Linked DNA regions of Homo sapiens: region 2 is linked to region 1. Evidence: promoter capture Hi-C in 16 types of primary human blood cells and fetal thymus (Javierre and others, 2016). All regions are on one chromosome and are shown on one strand. The core of a region is centred on a gene start or on the middle of the fragment in contact, and the rest is flanking DNA. Distances in the headings are between cores, read along the strand shown. Region 1 holds the start of PLSCR5-AS1 (PLSCR5 antisense RNA 1). Region 2 overlaps PLSCR2 (phospholipid scramblase 2).

Region 1 (7,777 bases), core at 3,163-5,662:
TTGACTCATGGATTAAGATTTTATTTATTTGGTTTCCTTTGCTTGTTTTTAAGTCCTTGAGTTGTCTATTTTTCAGAGCCTTAGATCCCTTAATTGATTGAATTTTCACTGCAAATAGATAAAATTCCTGCTAGACAACACTGCAGGTCTTAGAGGTCTATTTATATGCTTATTTAAATCTCTGGCATGAGTAGGTATTTAAAGCATGCTTTGGTTTGTAAATACTAGTTTCTTTATGGAATGTAACTGTGCCTCTTACCACTAGAATGAATTGATACCATCTATCTTCCTCTTCATCTTTAGATATATTATTTACCCAACTTTTAACTTTTCCAGTGTAAAGTAATAATATCTCACTACAATAAGAAAATTAATAAACAAAGTATAAAGGGACTACTTTTGAAAAAATGTTTTAGAAACTCAGTCCTTTTGATTAGTAACTAGCCTTAGTACCAGAAAAACTTCAAAAGTGTTCTCTAAACATTGAATTTTCATCAGTGATGCTGCAAGCCTTAGTTCTCATCTTTCATGCTTACCATTGCAATAACTTCAAAAGGATAAAAAGAAAGAATGGTAATCTCTCAAAGCAACCTTGTGCTCAGGCCAGTAATCACGTATTTAGCTATCATGCATTCACAACTAGATAATTGCCTCATTAAACTGTTTTAATAAATATAATAATTAACATTTTTTTTTAACAAAAAAGCAAACATTCAAACCATTCAGAAATGAAATCCAGAGCCCAAGGGATTTCTAGAAGAAAATGAAAAAGAGTTAGATAGCGTCAAATATAGACATCTTCAAAGGGAAAGAGATCATTTAAACTTGCTTTTTACTTACTGAAATATGTTCTGCATATTTTATTGTTTTCATTATCTTGGTTATTATAATCCAGCCAGTGAATGTTCAAAGAACATAAAATCCTACAAATAAGTAAACTGAATATAAGTGAATTTACAAAAAGACAACAATTAAGATCAAAAGTTTGACATGCAAGCTTTGATTATGTAAAGCAATTATATTTCCAGTGGTGTTCCAGTATTATGATTTAACAGAAGAAGAAAAATTTAAAAGTCTTAAGCTTTACAACATTTTATTTTCATGTTGAATTTTCAGAGTATAAGTAACTTAGAAACCCTATCTGAATCTGCATGGTATTGTCAAAGTGTTCCAGTATTATATGATTTATCTGGAGAAGAAAAATTTAAAAATTTTAAGCTTCGTGACTTTTTATTTTCATGTTGAATTTTCAGAGTATAAGTAACTTGGAAACTTTATCTAAATCTGCATAGTATTGTCAAACTTTTGGGTGATAAACCCTTTGCAGAATTAGACTGTATGCATTCTGGGTCAGTGTAGGAAGTTATAATGGATACGAATATTTGAACAAAAATTAGATATATTACCAGAGATAATGTGGTCAGCAATAGGTGGTTATTTGAGGGAGTACTGAAAACTACACCAGAGAGAACTCAAAGAGTGAGTGGTGAGTCGGAGGAGTGGTGGGTTGTGAAGCCGTATCTTGGAACCAGAAGAGACCAAAAATTAGATTTCATTTGTGATTTAGATTTGTATTTAAATGAGGAAATAACCTTATACCAGCAGCTTTCTAAAGCTTTCGCCTGAATAAAATAGAAACAGCAATTAAAAATTAAAAACATAATTCTTTCTATAAAATTATGTATAAGGAAAGTAATTTATCTTGGTAATACATGTAAGAAATAGTTTTATAAGCTATATTGGCTGGCAAAAAAAGGCAAATGTTTTACAATATGATGGTAAAAAGAAAAAAAGAGAAATGAATGGGAGTCATTAACTATTCTCAGTGAACATTTCTCCCTTAAATGCTGGAGTTTAAAAGTTATCCTTTTAGATGATTAGGGTATTATCTAGATCAGTGCTTCTTAAATTTATAGTGCATAGAGGAAGCACCTGGGCATCTTGTTCAAGTGCAGGTCCTGATGCATCTGGGGTGGGATCTGAGATTCTTTGCTTTGAGCGAGCTTCTAGGTGGTGCAGATGCTTGCACTTTGCACCACACTTTGAGTATGACCTAGATCAACCTTTACGGAACCTACATCTCATCAATCTCTCAAAGCATATGGACTAAGAAATACATGCTTTTTCAAGAAGAACATATGTTTAGAGGGTTTCTGAAACAATAAGAAAAACTGATAAGGTTTAAAATACAGAGAACTGTAGTTCCAATTTTGGCAGTACATTTTAACTATCAGCTTGTTATGTAAAATAGGTGAGTAGGGCAGATTAAAAAGGATCTATTTCTAAATATTAACGTTAAGTGTGGGGCTTAATCAGAAAGGCCTAATGAAGATCTTGGGGAAAGGGTGTGTGTGTGGAGGGGTTGGTGTTGAAGTCAGAATGATCAAAGATGGGAACAGTAAGCAAAGGAAGGGTGACAAGTTAAAAGCACTGTCCAGTGGATAGAGGAGAATAGGGAAGAGATGACATTAGGCAACAGGCAAGGTGGACTAAGCTGGTTAGATTTGCAGATGAAAATGGGAGTTGAGAGTAAGTGACAACTTAGTAAGTTTAAAAACCTAGCACTCTATAGATATTACTTCCATCTTCTACCAATAATAGGAGACTGGTAAGTTAAAATAATTCCTCTGAAATCCTGGAGAAATAATCCTAATATACATACTTGTATATGTATATGTATATGTATATATGCATATATATATACATATATATCTATGTATTAAATTCTGAGTTTCAGTGAAGTCATCAGGGAATAATTTTTAGTTCATATATTTTCCAAATATCATTAGAAGAGACTCAGTAAATAGGGCATTAATGTAAACAATCAGATTTAGCATTCTGAAACCCCAGAAAACAATAAAACATGAGAAGGAATTTAAGCTTTATAAAAATTTCATGATTACCAAAAGTGCATAACCTGAATCTAACCATGACACAAACTGAAATTAGGCCACAGTTTACAAAATAATTGGCTTATGCACTTAAAAAATGCCAATGTCGGCTGGGCAAGGTGGCTCACACCTATAATCCCAGCACTTTGGGAGGCCAAAGCGGGTGGATCACGAGGTCAGAAGATCGAGACCATCCTGGCTAACACAGTGAAACCCCATCTCTACTAAAAATACAAAAAAATTAGCCGGGTATGGTGGCACATGCCTGTAATCCCAGCTACTCGGGAGGCTGAGGCAGGAGAATCGCTTGAACCTGGGAGGCAGAGGTTGTGGTGAGCCAAGATTGCGCCACTGCACTCCAGCCTGGGTGACAGAGTGAGACTCTATCTCAAAAAATAGAACAAAAAATAAAACAAAAACAAAAATGCCAATGTCATGAGACTCAGGGAAATGCACATGCATGTGCACATGTTCATGCACACACATATACACACACACACACCCCTTAGGAACAGTTCCAGGTGAAAAGAAACAAATGAGATGTGACAAAATGGACATACTTCATGATCTTGGATTTTCTATTGTCAGAAAGGACATCATTATGCAAATCAGTGCAAACCGAATAAAGTCTGTAGATTAGATAATAGCATTGAATCAGTGTTTAGTGCCTGACTTTGACAATAGTACTGTGATGTGTAAAAAAATTCCTTGTTTTTAGGAAATGCACACTAATATAATTAGGGGAAAAGGCATCATGTCTGCAACCTACTCTCAACTCTTATGCTGTTTGTTTTAATCACTTATGTGTGTGCCTGTGTATACACATCTTTTTCATGTATTTATAGAAAATACATGTGTTTATATATCAACAAATAAAAACTCCATAAGTTTTTATGGCTGCATTGAAAATGGTAGGAAATTAGGTAAATATTAGAGGGAAAACTAAGAACAGGATATAGGTCAAGCATTTTGATACAGGTATTATTTGACTTCTGTTCTTCTATCACCAATCTCCATATACCAAAGAAGAAAAGGTTTTCAATATAATTGTAAGTTGGAAAGTAATAACAAGAACATAGTATCTTAGAAATAATGGCAACTGGTACCTATTAACTCATCAAATCATTTCATGTGTCTATGTTCACACTGAGAAGGCAACATTCTTAATATCATCTAGCTCACTATTATGCAATGAACCAGTCTGGAACTTTATCCAGGATAAATCATGTGATATTTATGTTTGCATATTTTTTAGTTCAAGTGAAAATAAGCCAAAAATCTAAATTGAACGTAAAAGCAAGGGGAAACTAGGTTTTAAAGAAATGATGAATAGGATGTGATAACACTTCAATCTTTGAGAAAGGGGATATGAGATCACTGAAGAGGGGCTGCCTAACAGAAATGCAGGGTTCTAAATTCTAATTTTTGAAGAACATTGGTCCTAAGCTATCCTTCTATGAATAAAATATACTCTTTGGGGGTAAAAACTGTGTAAATGGGATAGGCTATATTGTAATTAACAAGCAAGAGGGAGAATAACAAATCACTCATGCTCTCAAAGCCCATACTTACAAAGAGAAAACAGGCACCGATCATTGCTGCTTTGACTGTTACATCTAGATCTGCAGGAACATGAATTCCGAAATTGTCAGCATTTGTGAAGACATCATTTACAAATCCTGACCAGTACTTTGAAATCTTCCCAATTGTAAGCTTTTCATTAATGGTTTTCACCTTTAGAAAGAAAATAAGGAGTATTAAATTTGACAGTGAAAAAAGTTGGTTTTATACTTCTGAGGGTGTTTACTTCATGAGAGATTTGAATTATTTTATTTGTCATCTTCAAAATGACAATTCCATGTTATTCATTCCATCATATAAGCATAGGTTTGTAAATTTAGCTTTTCAGTTTACTTTTTAGAAACTTTGCTTTTTTGACAGTTTTCTAGTCCATCATAATTCTTTTTCTTTTTTGTATGCAGATGGAGAATATCAGGATAAATAATTAAGGCTCAGCCACCACAAGATGGCAGCAGGTACATAGTTCAATTGTATCATCTAAGCATGAAGGCGATTTCTTTACTTGAGGTCCAGATTTTAAACCTGAATTCTCCATCTTAAAAATGTAAAAGAAGATATGTTTGAAAAAATATTTCAGAAGGAATTAAATTAATTTCTAGGCATAATTTGTAAACTTTCAAATTTCAGTTGCTAAAATTTTATAATTATTAAAACATTTAAATATTATTGGCCATTGTTAAATCACATTTTTATATTATACTCAGACATTTATTAGGTCAATACTTTCTAACAAATCCTAAATCCTATTTTTACATTAAAAAAATCCTCCTGGTTAATGTACCATATAGGAAGTTAAGACCAACTAGACATCAATCAGTCCTTCTCAGCTAGAAGGAGTTCACAAATCAACTTTATCAGCTATTTGTTTGTTTATTCTGCTTCCCATCCTGATGCTGAAAGTAATTCAAGAGAAACTATCACTTTTTTCAGGGTAGTAAAAGATAGAGAATAGAGAGGGTTACTTAGGACATTTCTATAGCATGAATGCTAAAACTCTTATGTTTAAAGTCCTCCTCAATCATATTACTCGTAGGAAAGTCATGCCAAATCCTTTGGGGATAGGGTGAAGTTGGAACAGCTCAGTTTGCAAAATTTGCATTGTATTCTACGTGCATAGTGTTTCCTGAAGTCCTGAGAACTAAATGCCCTTGCTGAGATATTTATGTATGAATGGATGAAAAATAAATATACACTTTCAATTAGGCTGTCTCCTCTACCTAAGTTGTATGTCCAGGACAACCTGTTAAGATAGTTTATATTGCTACAGATCAAATTTACAACTTTCTATTTTTTAAATATTCAATTTATACAAATACGAGAATAAGGTTTTTTTTTGTTTTTTTTTTTTGTTTTTTTTACAAAACTAACTTAGCAAGTCTTAGAAACACAGCTTTTGAGTTAATGCTGTTTTAATGTAACGTGCTGCTGAAATGAGATCTAAACTGGGATATGTGATCTCAAGGCCCATAGGAAAGAAGATACATAATTTAGGTGATTCTAAACTGTATATATTGGCTTTATTGCCATGTGTCCTGTGATTCTACATAAATAAAACATACTGAAACAAGAATGAAGTGCTAATTTTCAAAATCAGGAAATATTGGTTATCTTAAAAAGGCAAAGCTATGTGTCCAAAAATTTTTGATGTTCAAAGTCTTGCACACATTAAAATAGCAACACATTTACTATTCTAATCAAAGAGATATAGTAGCTTTGTCCATAGAACACATAGAATTATATTTAGCTAAACATGCTTTTATTATAGTAAAATTTATTAATATTACTTTGGATAATACTTACACTGGTCTATGACAGATATGATGGCCAAGGTGATAAATTTTGTAATATTATTTTTAAAAAATCCTTGGACTTTATATCTCTGGATTTACATATTCCTATTCTTAGCATGTACAATATGGGCTGATTACATTATATTACAAATATGTCATTTTCTGAACTTATTTTAAATGAAATTAATTTGAACATAAAAAAATTGAATTATGTTGCAAAAAAAAATCAGGACCTAAATGAAAACTTCTTTCATTTTGTCAATTGTACCTCAAAATCCACATCGCCAAAACAGCCACATGTCACACAAGGACCAACAATTTTCAAAATATCTTCTTTGTTTGCATTTTGGATTGTGAATTTAGGCAGAAAGGGGTCCCACTTCTGCGTAACGTAACCAACTATAGTACCAGGAGGGGCTTGGATTTCTAACTGTAAGAAGAGATAATGATAAAATAAGATTTTCTTAGGTTATCATATTTTAATTTTACTATAATGTCAATTTACCTGTAAACAATATACTGTTATAAAATTATTTTGATATTCTACAAATCATTCTAAATACCTGCTTCTAAGGATACAGATTTTATAAAATATTTTACAGAAAACAAAGAAATTCACTGTATAAACATACGTTTAGCACTGTGCACTAAAAGTCTATGTCTTATTTCCCTAAAGAGAATCTACCCCACGACTATCTTCTGACCCTAGGACAGTGGCTTCTTTGCCATTTTATCCCAAGTACAACCATTGGTCAACCACTGAAGCTGTTCCTATGTGGTTACTCATATCTACTCCTTTTAATTGTAGCCACAACACACATCTATTTTAAGTCTCCTTTATCAATTATTGAGTATTCATATTTTTTCTCTAAGATTATAAGCTCCAAGATTATCTATATTTAATTAAAAACAAATGCTTCTTGCAGAGTTATAGTCATTAAACACCAGTTTGATTGCTGGTTTGTGGCTTCCAAAGTGTTCGAGACTAGTAGTTGGATTTTTGCATTATCCGGCATTACTTTAGCATTTGACTCCATTACCTTTACATATTTATGTAACCCAATCAAATATTTTGTAAAATAAATTGGGGGTGGGTACAAATTTTTTAAATGTTTGCTTTTAAACCAAGACATCGCCATCATCTGATCTCATTTTGACTTTTCTTATGAAGTTCATAGTCTTATGCATATGTCTATAATGTTCTTGGATAGATAAAAGTGATTTCAACTAGACTGCTTAGAATTAATATAGATTTGCTCTGGGATCACTTTTAAAGTTATTAATTTGCTATTGATCAAATTTTTTTAAAAGTTACTAATAGTTATCAAGTAATATATTATGTTTAATTTATGACCCTGGACTACCATTAAAGAAAAAGTTAATTATCAAAAATTTTAAAATGAGCATATTTCTGTGATCATAATGACTACACTCTCTTGGGGCATATTAATATTAAATATCCTCAGTAGACGGATGGAAATTCTTGGGCTCCATGCACGAGCACTTCAATCATTT
Region 2 (7,777 bases), core at 1,660-4,159, 130 kb before region 1:
CAATACATTTAAGTGGAACACTGGTGACAGGCTCATATACTAATAAAAAATAAGGGTTAGCAAACAATTTAACCTAGTACTAATGCACTGTAAATATAGCTTTTATAATTTATTCCTCCTACGATTAATGAATATAGATGACTCGTGATTGGCTCTGTTGTGGAATCAGGGGATACAGCTATCAAAAAGTCAATATGCTGTCAATGAGCTTACAGTTAACTTCTGGAAGAAATAAAATAATTTTTTATAAAAGACTTCATATTGGTATGATGGGGAAAACATGGGAGAAAGGACAGAGGATAAGTAAGTTACTTTAGATGGATATAATTTATGTTGAAATCGAAAAGATGAGAAGGGGAAAATTTTACGTGACGATCTACCGAGAAATGCTATAGGAGGAAGGAAAAGCAAATGTAAAAACGCTGACTCTGTAAGGAATTTAGCATGTTCGTGAGAGAGGAGAGTCATAAGAAAGGAGGAGTATGCATGGTTGTCACCAAAGCAATAGGAAGAAGTTCATCTAGGGAGACCCTTAGTAAGGAGTTTGGATTTTATCCCAGGTGTCATTGATAATTACTGGAGGAATTTAAGCAGAAGAGTGAGTTCCATGATCTCATATATATCTTGCGAAGTTTTCAGGAGTGCCCAGTACTGGAATTTACAAGGGAAAACACAGCTACAAATAATATCCTTTCATAAGCTAAAAAAAAAAATGACAAAGAACAAGTCAACAACACATTTAGTATTATAGGGAGGAAATTAAACACTTAGTAAATTACTTACTTTTATTGTTCATGGATTGAAATAGTTCTGAAAGAGACCTGATATTAATATGCTGTCTATACATTTGTAGGTCCAATACAACTGTTGGAACAAGATATTCTAAAACAATACAGTCACATTCATGGGATATTTCTCTTTATTCATCTAGTAGAGCCTTATCTGGCCATTTAAATCCTTTGGGCTTGACCTCATTCCCCTTCCTGTTTTCACAGTAGAATTGATTATTATTTTCTATGGAGACAAGGTCTCATTATGTTGCCCAGGCTGGTCTCAAACTCCTGGACTCAAGCGATCCTCCTGTCTCGCCCTCCCAAAGTCTTGGGATTACAGGCATAAACCGCTGCATGTGGCCTTGGTAGGAATTTAGAAATTGTTGGTCAGCCCACGACGATGAACACTTTCTTTTTTCTTTTTCTTTTCTTTTCTTTCTTTTTTTTTTTTTGGAGATGGAGTCTCCCTCTGTCACCAAGCTGGAGTGTAGTGTGGCATGATCTTGGCTCCCTGCAACCTCTGCCTCCTGCGTTCAAGCGATTCTCGTGCCTCAGCCTCCCGAGTAGCTGGGATTACAGGCACACGCCACCATACCCAGCTAATTTTTGTATTTTTTAGTAGAGACGGGGTTTCACCATGTTGGCCAGGCTGGTCTTGAACTCCTGACCTCGTGATCTGCCCACTGCGGCCTCCCAAAGTGCTGGGATTATAGTCGTGAGTCACTGCGCTCGGCCGATGGTGAACACTTTCCAAAAGCCTTTAGGAAGAAGGTCTAATCAGGAGGAAAGCCATGAAGAAATGCTGCGAGCTAAGACCCCAAAGGGTAATTGAGCTAAAACTTCAGCCTTCACAACCTGCACAATCTAAATGAAGTGTGTGGTTTATTTCCAAGCCTCTGGGCTTGGGCTCCAGGAATGGTTCAGCTAAAGAGCAAGAAAGGTTAATTATCAGATCACACCACTGCAATTATCTCGGAAAATTTCAGGTCCTGTGGCCCTGTCATGCCAATCCTGACCAGCAAATTTGAGAAGTTCTGACACTACTCTGTTCATTAAGAGATGTATTTATTTATTTATTTTTTACCAGAGAACCCACTCTCAGGAGCTGTCACAGCCATAGCATCCTGACCACCAAGTGAAACTTTGTACTTGGTATTTCTTTTTTTTCTTTTTTGAGACGGAGTCTCGCTCTGTCGGAGTGCAGTGGCGAGATCTGGGCTCACTGCAAGCTCCGCCTCCCAGATTCACGCCATTCTCCTGTCTCGGACTCCGGAGTAGCTGGGACTACAGGCACCCGCCACCACGCCCGGAATAATTTTTTTTGTCCATGTTAGCCAGGATGTTCTTGATCTCCTGACCTCGTGATCTGCCCGCGTCGGCCTCCCAAAGTGCTGGGATTACAGGCGTGAGCCACCGCGCCCTGCCTATACTTGGTATTTCTACAGAAACATAAATGACAGCAAATATTCTACTCAGTAATTCTGCCTTCTGATGCCTTGACCCCATCCTAGTCTTTCCCACTGCTATCCAGTCACTGTTTTCTCCATCTACTGTAGATCCCAGTGCTTTTCATGACTGTTAATTACAATGAACACATCGGGCAAAAACTCCATTACCCAAAATTTTTATCTTGGACCCATGCACGCTAATACAAACTGCCCTCCCACTTCTCAGGCCCACTCCAGTGTTGGCTTCCCTTTTACCAACTCCTCCTACTGTGCAATCCTAAGTGGTAAATAAGTCAACTGATCCCTCCACATCCTCAACTAAAATCTAGAATTCTCAAGAAGAAACCACCTCCTTACCTGCCATTTCAAAATTATTTTTTATGATTACCAACTTTAAGCACACATTTTCATAATATAGTGAAACTCTTAAGAATTCTCCAATTATAGTCACCTCTTAGTTACATCTACTCAAGAAGTTCAGCAAAGGTTGAATAATTCCAAGTGGGTTTATTTGGCCCTGAAATAAATCAAAAGATGTATTTGTGTTACTGATTTAACTTCCCGGATTTTCTTAGAACAATCGGAATCCAGTTTGCATTAACTGGTCAGAAATCAATGCTGTGGACCTCATCAAGTCAGAAGAGTAGAAATATTAAAACTTACATTTTTCTGCAGTTAATCTATAAGGTGAACAATAAGCTAGTAAACATGTGTAACTAGGGTAGACTAACTAGGGTAACTAGACTAACTAGGGTAGACCACTAGCTTTCCTGGTCTCCAGTTTACAGACTTCTAATGTGGTGGGACTTTTCAGCATACAAAATTGCATGAGCCAATTTCTTATAATACATCTCTTCATATATATATGTCTACATCCTACTGCTCTGTTTCTTTAGAGAATTCTGACTAATATGATGAGTCTATTCCAAGAAATAACATGACTCAGTTTAGGACATGATTGGGCTGTGTCCTGACTAAATTAGCTAGTTAATCTAACATGATAACTTTAAATCATTGCTTCCACCACTCTTACTAAAAAGTAAATTCTAGAAATAACTTCAGAGAAAGAGAAAATCATATTTTTATGCTGTACTAAAACAAAGCAAAAGTTTGTAATAAAGTCATATTATATATTATACCATTTGAATTATAGTTACTCCAAAACAAACACAGAACTTCAAGTTACAATCTGATTACTACACACTTCTTTCTAACTCTCTGTTAAGTGATAAATTTGGAGTAAATTGAGGCAGCATATACTATATACACATTAGTACATCTCTTTTAAAGTAATTATATCAGAAATCATGTCTTCATTGCTGCTCTGGACTATTTGATAATTATAAACTTCTGCACTCAGGGAGAGGGAGAAATAGCACAGAGGATTTCCAGTTCTGACTTCATAATTTATATTACAGTTGTTAAATATTAACAGCTGTATAGGAGGACATCCATTTGGTTTGACCTCCTGCACTAGGCTTCAACAGATCAAATCAAAATGGAGTAACTAATGCTAAAGTTCCACATTACCAAACTGAAACTAAGTTGTTTATTTAACCTTCCAAGAAATCAGGAGAGAAATGAAAGCCCAGACTCCAAACAGGCCAGTTTTAGCCTGCATAATAAAGAAGTTCCCACTACTTTAGTCCTTATAAAGAGAGTAACCTGAACTAATCTACCGTTAACTAATCCACTTTTTGTATTATGCTATTTCCTCATTCCTGCTCAAGGTACCTTATAAAAACTGACTATTCTGCAATGCCGCATGTAGCATCTCTCTATTTTTAGATAAGATGCTGTCATATTCATGAATTCCTAATATAAGCTAATTACATCTTTAAATTTGTTGTAATTTATCTTTTGACACAGCTAAAGCCTTTTGACCTATTTCTTAAGGTCCTGAAAATTTTTTGTTTTACTGCTTTCAAACATAACTAAAGTAAAACCTGGAACTCACAGGGAAATCATACTTAATTCTGGAAGATCCTAAAATTACTATGCCTTTAACATAGACAATTAACAAATAAATTCAGATTAATAACCTAAACCTAGTTATGCCTAAGAACAACTCTCTCCCGCCACACTCACCCTCCACAAAAAAAAAAAAAAAATCACAATATAAAACAGTTCATATTCTTCTCAAGCCCCAAGCAGAGACATAGGTTCTGAATTATTTTAGCAAAATTCTACCATTCTGAAAACAATCACAAGAATTCTAGGTGCCTAACTTCCTACCAATAAGTAAGAATGAGACATTATGCTATGCCAGAGGGGAACTGTGAATAGCCCAGGGAGAAGGCAACATTTATTGAGGTAACTCACAAATTAAATAGCTTTCACATCATTCAGTTACATGATATGTAAATTTTATGCACTTAAAAGATTTGGTTACCATCTAAGAAGACAAACATTTCATCCCTTGAATTGTGGTTTCAGTCAAAGTAAAGCAGAGCAAGCACAGATGCATTTTTACACATGTGTGGGGCAAGAAGATGGTGAGCCTTTGAGTACAAAGCACACCATATCTGTGAGGTATGAGATTGAAGTAGGGTGACTGAGGCCAGTTATTAATGCAAAGCACCTTGTAACCGGGAGTTTTACTATAAAAATCCACTTCAGCATCTAGGCTCAAGAAAACAAAACACATATGCTTAGAACCAATGTAAGATAGGCTTTTACAGTTTTGTTTGTTTGTTTGTCTTTTGGTTTTATTGAGACAGAGTCTTGCTCTGTTGCCCAGGCTGGAGGCCAGTGGCACGATCTCAGCTCTGCAACCTCTGCCTCCTAGGTTCAAGCAATTCTCGTGCCTCAGCCACCAGCATAGCTGAGATTACAGGCATATGCCCCCACACCTGGGTAATTTTTGTATTCTTAGTAGAAACGGGATTTTCCCATGTTGGCCAGGCTGGTGTCAAACTCCTAGTCTCGTTATCTGCCCACCTCAGCCTCCCAAAGCGCTGGGATTACAGGTGTGGACCACCACACCTGGCCTATAGAATTGTATATTAAACCTTGAATTAAAATGTAGATAATATATCAACTAGACCCAACTGAAATTGTAGTAGTAAAGTGTTCTACAAAACTAACAAGTAAACCAAGGAGACAAAAGCAACAAAAATGAGTCTTAAAGTCAGTTATTCTCATTTGATTGCTTTATTACTGCTCAAAAACCTTTTCTAACAACCCAGACCTCCCTCACAAATGGGAGTTTTCCTTTCTTCTTCATAAATGAGAAAACTAAGCCCATAAAGATAAAGTGTTTACTTAATGCTGTACAGCTCAGTAACTAGCTGAATTGAAATTATTCATGATTCATGTCCATTGCATTCATGTTCCTATTTCATTGAATAAAAAACAAACAAAAAACCCCACATTCTCCCAATGTGCCAAATTTCAGTGAAAGTTGTTAGAGGTTATCTTTAAGGTATCTTTCTTACGTAAGATAGAAATATCTTGAATTTCAATTTAGTCTCATGATCAATTAGTTTTTAACTAGGATAGGCAAAACTTTTTTAAAAGCAGTTTTTAACAACAAATTTTGGGAAATGAAAAGCACAGTTGTTACTACTGATTAACTAAAGTGCTTTGGCTTTTAAATTTAGCACTGTTCAAGGCAGTGCTATAGAGTGTGTGTACAGGTACACATATGTGTACATACATATATCCACATATATGTACACATGTATAAATGTATAAGTACATAAATACTCACTTAACATAAAGCTTATTTTGTTTTTCAAGGAATATTGATCAACTAGACCCAACTGAAATTGTAGTAGTAAAGTGTTCTACAAAACTAACAAGTAAACCAAGGAGACAAAAGAAACAAAAATGAGTCTTAAAGTCAGTTATTCTCATTTGATTGCTTTATCACTGCTCAAAAACTTTTCCCAACAACCCAGACCTCCCTTGAATATTAATCTAGTTGAATAATATATTTACATGATATGTAAATTTTATGCACTTAAAAGATTTGGTTACCATCTAATTACTACCATTTGATTAATATTCAAGGAATCTTAACCAAAGGCATAGAGCATGAAAGGCACTGTACAGGCACTAAAAAATGGAGGAGTCAGGCAGTTAATAAAATTAAATATATTCCAGCACATTATATTAATTAAATTTATTATAAATATATTATGGATAACACATATATAACAATACAAATGTATTTGTACATATACAAATACATTAAGCACTATGAATACAAATAATGGTACAATAAAAAGGATATGGAGTCATTGATTTAGTTGGAGTAGTGGTGGCATTGTCAGGAAAGTCAGAGCGGAGAGTTGAAAAAAGTCTAGAATCAGCCAGGCCATAGGGATGTATGAGGGGCGTGGTAGGGCATTATAGACAGAGGGAAGCTCACTAGTAGAAGTCCTAAGCTGCAGGAAACTGGGCTTATTCGGGAAATGAAAATTTATGAAATTACAGAGCCAAAGATGGACAGACCCTTAGAGATGAGGATGGAAAGGTGCACAAGGGCCAGTTCACAAATGTTTAAAGTCGCTCTACCTGCACTTTAAGACCTCAAAGGCCAGAGCTTGGTTTGTCTTATCCAAGACAAGCCACTTAATCTGTGTTTGTTAATTCAACAATGAGTGTACAGTATTATTTTGCTCTTTTCAGTCAGTAAGAATAGTTCCCTTACAGATCTGAAGGCTGCTTCATGTACAGTGAGACCCAGGTATTTTACACTTGTCTATCCAACTGCAGCAATCCACTCATTTTCCTTTGTATGTGTTTTTCATTTCCTTGTGCTTGTTCATTGCTCAAAACCCTTCTATTGTAAACATCAGGGTGGCAATAAGAGAAAGGTTTGCTCTTAGGAAAAGTTCAAGAAAGAAAGGAGCCCCCAAACCGCCTGACACTTCTAAGTGTCACTGGTACTAACCATGTATCTCAGTGTCATAAGCGGGAAGAAACAACGACTGCCTGTTCCTGCAACTGGCAAGTGGCCATGCCAAGACTTCCAGAAATAACAGTGAATGAATGAAACCACATGGGAACCAGAGAGTCAGCTTGGAGAGGCAGGGACTTTGTCAAATATTTAAAATAATAAACGCTAACTTTCACTGAGTACTTTCTGTAGTGCCAGGCACTGCTCTAAGAACTTTACATTAACACACATTAATTACTGCTCAAAAACCTTTCCTAACAACCCAGACCTCCCTCACAAATAGGAGTTTTCCTTTCTTCTTTATAAATGAGAAAACTAAGCCCATAAAGATAAAATGTTTACTTAATGCTGTACAGCTCAGTAACTAGCTGAATTGAAATTATTCATGATTCATGTCCGTTGCATTTATGTTCCTATTTCGTTGAAAAACAAACAAAAAATCTCACATTCTCCCAATGTGCCAAATTTCAGTGTAATACTCTGTAGCTCATTTAATACTTACACAATTTCAGAAATGAGGCAATGGAAAGAACATATATGAAGAAAGTGGCTGACAGTCCACAGATGTGAAGCAGTAGAGGCCGAATTTAAAGTCGGGGAGCCTGACTGGAGCTAATGGTCTTAGGAACCGCGCTACATACCGCCACTAT

The links. Contacts are between HindIII fragments. The CHiCAGO score rates a contact against its expected background, and 5 or more counts as called.
Region 2: a contact is called between a fragment that was not itself captured here and the fragment with the promoter of PLSCR5-AS1 in region 1, in 1 of 17 cell types (monocytes). The highest score is 5.8, in monocytes.

The regions. Positions count from the first base shown.
Region 1 is chr3:146,585,190-146,592,966 of GRCh38, forward strand. It overlaps PLSCR5-AS1 (PLSCR5 antisense RNA 1), which reads left to right and starts at 4,413. Exons shown (of 2, transcript NR_046698.1): 1 at 4,413-4,599; 2 at 4,874-5,136. PLSCR5 (phospholipid scramblase family member 5) reads right to left here. Exons shown (of 8, transcript NM_001085420.2): 5 at 6,531-6,692; 6 at 4,464-4,625; 7 at 841-923; 8 at 648-753. The coding sequence ends at 885. The HindIII fragment of the contact is 1,724 bases long and covers 2,879-4,602 here.
Region 2 is chr3:146,461,257-146,469,033 of GRCh38, forward strand. All of the region lies in intron 1 of PLSCR2 (phospholipid scramblase 2), which reads right to left. Among named protein-coding and RNA genes, the nearest start is that of PLSCR2, 4.4 kb to the right of the region's middle. The HindIII fragment of the contact is 6,066 bases long and covers 1-5,942 here.